Regions from separate parts of the Homo sapiens genome. Here region 1 is linked to region 2. The links are contacts of gene promoters, found by promoter capture Hi-C in human tissues and cell types (Jung and others, 2019). All regions are on one chromosome and are shown on one strand. Each heading gives the region's core, a stretch centred on a gene start or on the middle of the fragment in contact. The rest is flanking DNA. Distances are from core to core; before and after follow the strand shown. Region 1 overlaps MCU (mitochondrial calcium uniporter). Region 2 holds the start of MCU (mitochondrial calcium uniporter).

The links. The method cuts DNA at HindIII sites, captures the fragments that hold promoters and counts their contacts. A contact is called where the count stands out against the background at its distance.
Region 1: a contact is called between a fragment that was not itself captured here and the fragment with the promoter of MCU in region 2, in 4 of the 25 tissues and cell types used here (aorta, dorsolateral prefrontal cortex, heart left ventricle and 1 more).

Annotation. Positions count from the first base shown.
Region 1 is chr10:72,782,590-72,787,079 of GRCh38, reverse strand. The region is part of intron 1 of MCU (mitochondrial calcium uniporter); the gene reads right to left. Among named protein-coding and RNA genes, the nearest start is that of MIR4676, 64 kb to the right of the region's middle. RefSeq lists a silencer at 3,415-3,709. The HindIII fragment of the contact is 4,735 bases long and covers 1-4,466 here.
Region 2 is chr10:72,690,705-72,694,931 of GRCh38, reverse strand. MCU (mitochondrial calcium uniporter) reads right to left here and starts at 2,789. Exons shown (of 8, transcript NM_138357.3): 1 at 2,631-2,789. The coding sequence starts at 2,780. RefSeq lists enhancers at 1,352-1,441, 3,112-3,171 and silencers at 2,202-2,291, 2,312-2,361, 2,452-2,911. The HindIII fragment of the contact is 2,893 bases long and covers 1,604-4,227 here.

The DNA of each region.
Region 1 (4,490 bases), core at 850-3,349, 93 kb before region 2:
ATTTTTATTACATTATTAAATGGATAGAAATTTACCCTTTAAGCGTGAGATTAAAATATGGTCCTTGAAAAACCCCTCTCTCTCCATATATAAATTTTCTTTGCTATTTTGCTATTTGACATTGGGGATGTAAGGATTCATAAGAGAGAGTGGAAAAGCACACATTTGGTGATTTGTGTAAGAACAAGTGCTATGGGAAATAACCTAAATACCTAATATTCTACCAGTGATGGCATGTTTCCAGGAGGATTAAATTTAGTGAGAAAACTGAAAAAGCAGTGCTTTTGTGCTTCAAAATACTTTATTTATTTATTTTTACTTATTTATTTATTTTGAGACATTGTCTCGCTCTGTTGCCCAGGTTGGAGTGAAGTGGCACAATCTCGGCTCATTGCAACCTCCACCTGCTGGGTTCAAGCGATTCTCCTGCCTCAATCTCCCGAGTAGCTGGGATTACAGGCGCCTGCCACCACGCCCTGCTAATTTTTGTATTTTTGGTAGAGACGGGGTTTCGCCATGTTGACCAGTCTGGTCTCGAACTCCTGACCTCCACGTGATCTGCCCGCCTCAGCCTCCCAAAGTGCTGGGGTTATAGGAAAGAGCCATGGCACCCAGCCATGCTTCAAAATAATTTAATCCCAACAAATCTGTAAATTAGTAACTTACATTCCAGTTCTTCCAATGAGAAAACTGAGGCACACAGAGCACACAGAGCTAAGAATGAGCACAGCCAGGATCTGAAATCAAATATATCTGATTCTCAACCCATCTCTTTTTACTATGTGACTCATTTTTAGGTAACAAAAACAGTAACTTCTCACTCTATGTTGATGTGTTCAAGTATAACACAAGAAACAGGATAAGGACATTAAAAAAACAAACTAGCCAGAATTCCACAAACAGCTAGCCAGAACTACATTAACTAAACTGGATGACATCTCTGGACATCAATCTCACATATAATGAAATGATCTCCACAGCAAATCGTTCCTTTATGTATTATCCTATTCTTGAAATTTTATTGCACAGCATAATACCGTTTTTTCACACAGTGCTTGTTCAGTCCCTATTCTACGGACAATCTTCATCTCCTCAAATTGGTAAGCAACACCTTGTAGGCAAGGATATGTTATTCTTTAGAATCTCTAAAGCGTGCAATACATTCCCATAGTATATATTCAGTAAACACCTATTAAGAGTTGCTGGGCAATACTCCTTTGATTTCTATAAAAATCTCCTTTCCAAAAGGATTTTCTTCATCCATTTCTACTACGACATTGACAATTGACACTAAATTAAAACAAGTAGCTATACGTACATAATAATGTTTTTCTTGCAAATTAAACCAAGATGAAAATTGCAGCCCTTGTAAGGGTCTTACTACAGATACAAGTTACAGATGAAGTGAGCCTTTATTTCCATGAAATGAGCCAGCAGGAGAATTTTACATAAACACTAAAAGTGAAAAACTTGCAATTCTGGACTATGAGCCAACACACAAAAGAAGCTCATTTCAATCTGTCAGATAAATGCCTACTCAACAAGCATGACTTCCTGGAATATATTTGGCTATTTTATATTCTGTTTCCTTAATCTGCCACTAACTGTGACAATCTCAGAATGTTTTTGAACTTTAGGATATATTTCTATTATGCACATTTTTGAAAACTCTAAAATGTGTTTTAAAGATGCATGTCTGACTAGTTTCTGCATACCACAGGGAAGTTCATTAACCTAAGTGGTAGGGGGCAGCAGGAGGGGAGACAGGGAGACAACAGAAGCAGGGAAAGAGAAAGGAGAAACAAAGTTGTAGCTTTGGTAAACACCACCACTAACCTTGTTGCAGAGACACCAAGGTTATTAGAAAAGTGACGGCAGTAGCACTGCCAGGTTTGGCTGGAGCAGCCACCACTACCACTTGCTTCGCCGACTGTGTAATATATGTGGAAATGTGGGAGATTCTCGTGCTACATCATGAAACTGCATCTGTATGCTAAATATCTAGAGACAGGAAGAGCCCTGGAAAAGGAAAAGAAGAGCAATCCCTGTACTATGTAGAAGCCTAAAATCCTTGACAACGCAAGATTCTCCTTGAACAGCTCTATCAAGCAAGTAAAAGACACACACACCAGGAATTGGTTGACTGGTGCTTTAAAATCATTATCCATGTGTGTTTTGCTCCTCACTCCAACAAGGGCATTATATAGAGCTGAGAACACATCAGCATTTAGGAATTTCCCAAAATACTCTTGGTAGGAGGGATTCCCCACACCCAAGCCCATGAAAAGGCAAAGCTGCTCTGCAACTTACTTCAGCCAGAGAGGCAGGGTGCACAGCCAGCCCTCACTCACACACCCACGCACACATACGGACAGGCTTTCCCTAGCATCCTGCACTGAAAATGAGGAGACTGTTCCCTTGACTCCCTGCACAGTGCCACATTAACATTTTCAGAAGCTACTGGATACACAGAAGGCTTTTCCTGACAAACAAGGACATCCAGAGATCTAATCCCTGCTGACAACTGCTTTGTGGAACTTTCTGTCCTTTTCAGACATGCCTACTTAAATCTATTCTTTAACCTCTCCTGCAACCAAATGTAGCCAATTAAAAATTGTACTTACCTTCAACAAAATGGGAAAATTACTCACAGCTACAAGGTGGCTTGATTTTAAGTAAATGAATCACATTTATATTAGCTTTAAAAATCACAATTACTATTTGCATAAGACACATCCTTCTAAGAGATCTATCAAAACAGAGCAACATTTTCCAAACGTGACAGTATTAATTTGATAGGATCTGAAAAAACAAAGCCTTTGTACTTCCCTTTTAGTGAAATTCAAAGTAATCTCTCTGAATTACATACTCTTTATATTGTTCTCAAGAGGGAGCAGAAGAAAATCTTCTTTTGGAAAATGTCATCCCCTGAGAGATCCAGGTAAGTGGGCATTCATCTTTGCAGTACAACATGAGGGGTTAAGCAAGGAGCTACACCATCCAACGGTGCCCGGCTTTCCCCCGGCTTCACTTGGATCAAGCAGCAGGGTTAATTACGTGGAACAGCCAAAAAGGTAAAGTAACTGGGTATTGACTTTTGGGGGCTGGTAATTTCTATAGTGCCTATGGCTCTAGACTTCCTAATAAGCTTTTCCTTAATCTGCTTTTGAAACTAAAGAGTCAAGAACAAAGTAAAACAATTTTTTAAAAAGAAATAAAGAAAGAAACAAGCAACATCCTCCCCACTCCCCAACATTTGGAGCTAATCATGGGGAAAATCCTTCCTATAGGCATTTGATTTTAGGTACTTGTCACATTTTCTTTCCCAACTCCACTCCACCCCACTCTATGCGTTTTTCTTGGCATGATCTCTCTCCCTTCCTTTGAGAAAATAAACTGCATTTGCTCTATATTAACACTTCAGATACAACAGCTCCCCCCAACAAAATCCTCTCTTTATCCTGGAAGGTTTAACTTGACATGTTTTTTTCCTCAGAAGAAACCAGGCTAGAAATCCCAACACTGCTCCACTAAGTAAACTCTCCTAGGAAGAGAGGATTCACATGGCATATGCAAAGCCTCCTAGATGCCAAAGAGTTGAATAAGTGGCACATGGCATATGCAAAGCCTCCTAGATGCCAAAGAGTTGAATAAGTGGCATGTGGCAGTTCCACACCTGAGTCCAAAACACATCCCTTCAAAGAGCCACCAGTGTGATGTCCTCAATAATATTCTAAAATGAATAGCATCACACTGTTTTGGACATGAAGGTGATGGTTCTGAAAGGATAGGAAGGAATGTAAAACATAATCTATTTTAAAGTATCTGGAGGCTCTACATATAATGTAACTAGGTGGTATGCCTATGCCAGATGATAAAATCTAATTTGAAAAGTCTACACATTGACATTCTCTACCAAGGTGGAGCACACACAATGCGGTGGTTTCATTCAAACTATTCAATGAAGTACTTAGGGTGAATATTGATTATGCTTAAAGTGCATTCCACAAATACTTCAAACAAACTGAGTTATTTCCTTTTTCCATGGCCAGAAACTCCCTTCGCATTTTCCTATAGGAAGCTTAAATATAAGCTCTCATATTTAAGCCTCAACTGATTCTGCAAATTGCTCAGGTTTGCCTTAGGTTCAGTGAAAGACATAACCAGTCACAAATATTTCTAAACTCCTTCTGCAGGATGTTGGCTCACAGTAACACAGCTGCACTAGAATCAAAATAACTTCTGAAGCTACTGGCTTTGCTGGACAAGATACGAATAATACATAAGCCCTATATGCAAGAAACTAGTGAGAGGAACTAGACACACATCCCTGTAAAGTTAAATAAGCAAACAAAAGTTAAAATGAGTTCCACAGAAGAGGCAGAAATTCAGTTTGATTTTTAAGGATTATGGGCCGGGCGTGGTAGCTCATGCCTGTAATCCCAACACTTTGGGAGGCCAAGGCGGGTAGCCTGAGGTCAGGAGTTTGA
Region 2 (4,227 bases), core at 1,540-4,039:
AGTTGAATGACATACTAATGGAGAAGGGGGAAGAGACAAACTAAGTTTATAACTTCATAATTGCACTTACCAACTAGCTGAGCTACTGTATTGCTTTGGACTCATTCTCGAAACTTGGAAAAGATGAATTTCTCACTTAAAAAATTAGGCAGTGCTGTAACTGGTTATGCCCCCCTGGTTGTAATTTACCATACCATACAGCGGAACAAAAGTGGCACAAACTGGACTTGTGATCCATTCCAATGCAGACTGCCATCTGCTGCACATACACAGGATGTCTCCCAAGCAAGATTCAACCTTAGTGTCTCTCAGGGACCTTTACCAGAACATCTATTCTTTCTGGTAAGTTGTTTGCTCCCATATTCACCTAATATATGTACTCAAATCAACACCTACTTACAGGAGAATTCCCATTCATGGGGTTTTGAAATAGCAATACTTTCATAATGGACAATAGTAAATTTTATAAGGGAGGAGAGAGATGTAAAGGAGCATTTGCACTTTACAATGAAAAGAACACAATAAGAGGTGAGAATATCTCAGATGAGTGGGAGTCCTAAAACTTACGTATTAGCTAACGTAACCTTGGCCAAGTCTCTCTCTTTTTAGGGCCTCAATATCTTTTAAATGGAATTTCTTGTAAAGAATCACAGACTATCCTATGGAAACAGCTGTATACATGATGGCTTCAGAAGAATTGTAGAAAAATAAAATGTTTATACACTTTAAATAATCAGGTTCAATTTTTTTCAAAATCTTACAATTCTAAATTCATGTACAAGTCACCATTCCCATAACATTCCTGCCCTTTAGAAATAACACTTCGTTTTAATTGTGCTTTCAGTTACAAATTCAGCACTTCATTTTTACCCACCCTAGAATAGCACAGAGAACACCTTCGTGAAGTATCCCCACAAGGGAGACACTCACAGCCTGACAAATTTGCATAGTGGAAAATATACAAGGCACAAATTTTTTAAAATGCTAAATGAATATCACACCCAAACAGTCTTAAAAACTGTGCAAAGTCAGAAGATGTCTTATCAAAATATGGACTTAAGGACAACTTGGGAAGCCTTTAAGTAGTTCGACGGAAAGGGGAATGCAATCAAAATTTGGGGTGGCCTTATGTTTTTAAGAGAACAAAACACATAACTAGAGGCTATGAAACATGCAAATTAAATTGAACTGTGGAAAAGCTCTTGGCTGTCACCCAAAAGCTTCAGCAAAGCAATATGCCAGTATGCCAAATAAAAAGAGGTACAATCTTCTCACAAGAATGAGGATAGGGTCCATACCTATGACTAATAATAACAATACAACCTTGCTTTTGCAGAGCATTAGGTCTTTTCATAGATCTTTCAGGCACTCGATTTTGATGCTGTCATTGGCCTTAGGAGTATCCTCTCCGAAGAGCTCCAGTTCAGTTTCCTCTTAAGAGTTATGATCAGAACAAGGCAGGCGATGTGTTTATTGAGGGTTGAAGGTACTATTGTAGTTTCTCCTATCAAGCTGTTTGCAGTGATCCTCCAATAATCACACTATACAACTCAGCCCCAGCAAATAAAACCTACATTCTTTCCCTCAGAGCTGGCCAGAGACCAACACATATAGGTCTAGAAAGTCCAAGGGAAGGAAACCTCCTGACTTGTTAGGTTAAGAACTCCATGCCAAATTCATCTCTTGCAATTGAAAAAAGAAATCTCTCTCACACTCTGTCTCTCTCTCTCTCACACACACACACACACACACACACACTCACCCAAGAGTGTTCAAACAGAAATCCTCTTTTTCTGCCAGCCAATGAAACCCAGCAACAACTGGTTAATACAACCACCAAATCTCTGCCTCTGTCAACAACTTACCATATTCGCTTCTCCTGTGCCTGCTGACCACCCTTCCCGCTTCAGGCACGCGTGAACACGCTTATACAGTAGCCCTCGAAAGGACCCCCAAAAGCACCTTTAAGGACCCAAGAGGATGAAGCTTGCCTCCTGAAGCAATGCAGCATCCATCTCGAGGGAGCCGGTTCCCCATGCACACACACAGAGGAAGTCACAGAGGGGAATAAAGTTTGATTTTCCTTCCTGCCCGACCCCTCGGGGACGAGAGAGGACGAGGGGCGGCCCCGCCGGGGTCCTGGGCTGCTCTCCGGGGCAGCTCCCAGCAGCATGGCACTGCCACTCTCCTGGCACACACAAGGCGGCCGCGGCAACTCAGAACTCCCCAACCCGCCCGGAGGAGGAGGGAAAGGGGACAACTTCCATCTGGCTCCGTTCAGGGAGCCTTGGGGCAGGGCTGTTAAGAACGAAGAAGGGAGGGAACGCGATTGGGGGCGAGTCGGGGAGAGGTTCAAGTCCCGTGCCTTCCCCGCCCTGGTGTCCCCAGTCCTGCGGGAACATCCCCGCCGTCGCCCCTCCTCCTCCTCTCGGCTTCCTCCCGCCCGCCCTCCCTTCCTGGTCGCCGCCGCAGGCGCCTGAAGGGCACGGCGGCTCCTCGGTGCCCGGCAACCTCCGGAGCGGCCGGGAGTTGAGGTAACTCGCCTGCTGCCCCGGCGGCCTGCCCGCCGGCGGCTCCCACACGCCAGCGCCGCCCCGCCCTCCCCGGAGCCTCCGGGCGCGCTCGCTCACCGTCCGGTGGTGCTGCTGCTGCCGGTGGCGGCTGACGCCCAGCCCAGGGAAGCAGCCGGCAGTCAGCGCCCCGCAGCCGCCGGCGCCCCCGCCGCCGCCGCCCCGAGAGGAGAGGAGCAGCAGGAGCGATCTACCTGCGGCGGCCGCCATCTCTCAACTGGAAACGGCGCCGACCCAGGCAGCGCAGCGGACGGCCAGGGCGGAGCTAAGACCCGCCACTCACCGACGCCGGGCCAACTAAAGCCCTTGACTGAGTTGATGAGGCGGGGCTTCCTGCAAGGTCCAATCGACAGGCGGGAGAACCACACTGGAAGCTGCCAGTCCCTTCCAGAGTTACCTATAGTGGGACATAGTCAATTACGGGCAAATTCTAGGGAACCCATAATTGACACCCAAACCCGTGAAAATAACAGCAATAGAGATGGCATGTTCAGTTCGGCTAATCTTCACCAACAATAGAGCTATGATAAGAGTAACGGGGGATATAGATATTTGTGAAAAGCTTTGTTCGAAGTTGAGTTCTAAGTGAGTGTTCTAAGTTGGCAAAATAGGCACCAAATTAATAACCATTAACGGTGTATGCTGTAACTCTCAACTACACGCCTAGAATTATCATTCATAACTGATAATATTTAGATATGCTGAAATTAACTCTACATCACGGAGTGATCTAATGACTGTGATGCGTAGCATAATATAGGAGAGGTAGAACGATTACAATATCAAAGTCCCAGAATGAGTACATGCCTTCAGAGTGAATTAACTGACGTGTATACATCTCAAATACCCAATTCATTTTTACAGCACCTTTATACGGATATTCTCACACTCTCCAGAAACAGCACTATTTTATCATATTTGACTTTGTGTGCATTTACAGAAACAGAACACATTAATAACGTAATAAAAAATCATGTAAGGCCGGGCGCGGTGGCTCACGCCTGTAATCCCAGCACTTTGGGAGGCAGAGGCGGGCGGATCACGAGGTCAGGAGATCGAGACCATCCTGGCTAACACGGTGAAACCCCATCTGTACTAAAAATACAAAAAATTAGCCAGGCGTGGTGGCGGGCGCTTATAGTCCCAGCTATTCCGGAGGCTGAGGCAGGAGAATGGTGTGAACCCGGGAGACGGAGCTTGCAGTGAACCGAGATCGGGCCATTGCACTCCAGCCTGGGCGACACAGCAAGACTCCATCTCAAAAAAAAAAAAAAAAATTCATGTAAAAGGCTATTTTAATGATGCTTCATAATTTTGCCGAAATAGTTATCAGAATACGCTTTGGAATAACAAACACTTTCTCTTGAAAAACACTTCTTTCCACTTAAACTCACAATGAGGGCTCCTTGAATACTGCCTAAGAAAGATTTTGGGTCCTGAATTTCCTTAGAAGAGTATTTCCTTGCTAGCTGTTTATTATTATGAGCTGATTAAATTCTCACACCTCTTTTTAAAATCTGGAGCAGGAAAATAGTTTGGGAAGCAAATACAAGCATTATTTTAAATTTTGGAAAACATCTTTGTAGTGTAGCCTTAGATGATAAATTTAAAACAAAAACAAAACACACACATAAATACGAAGAAAATGTTATCACTT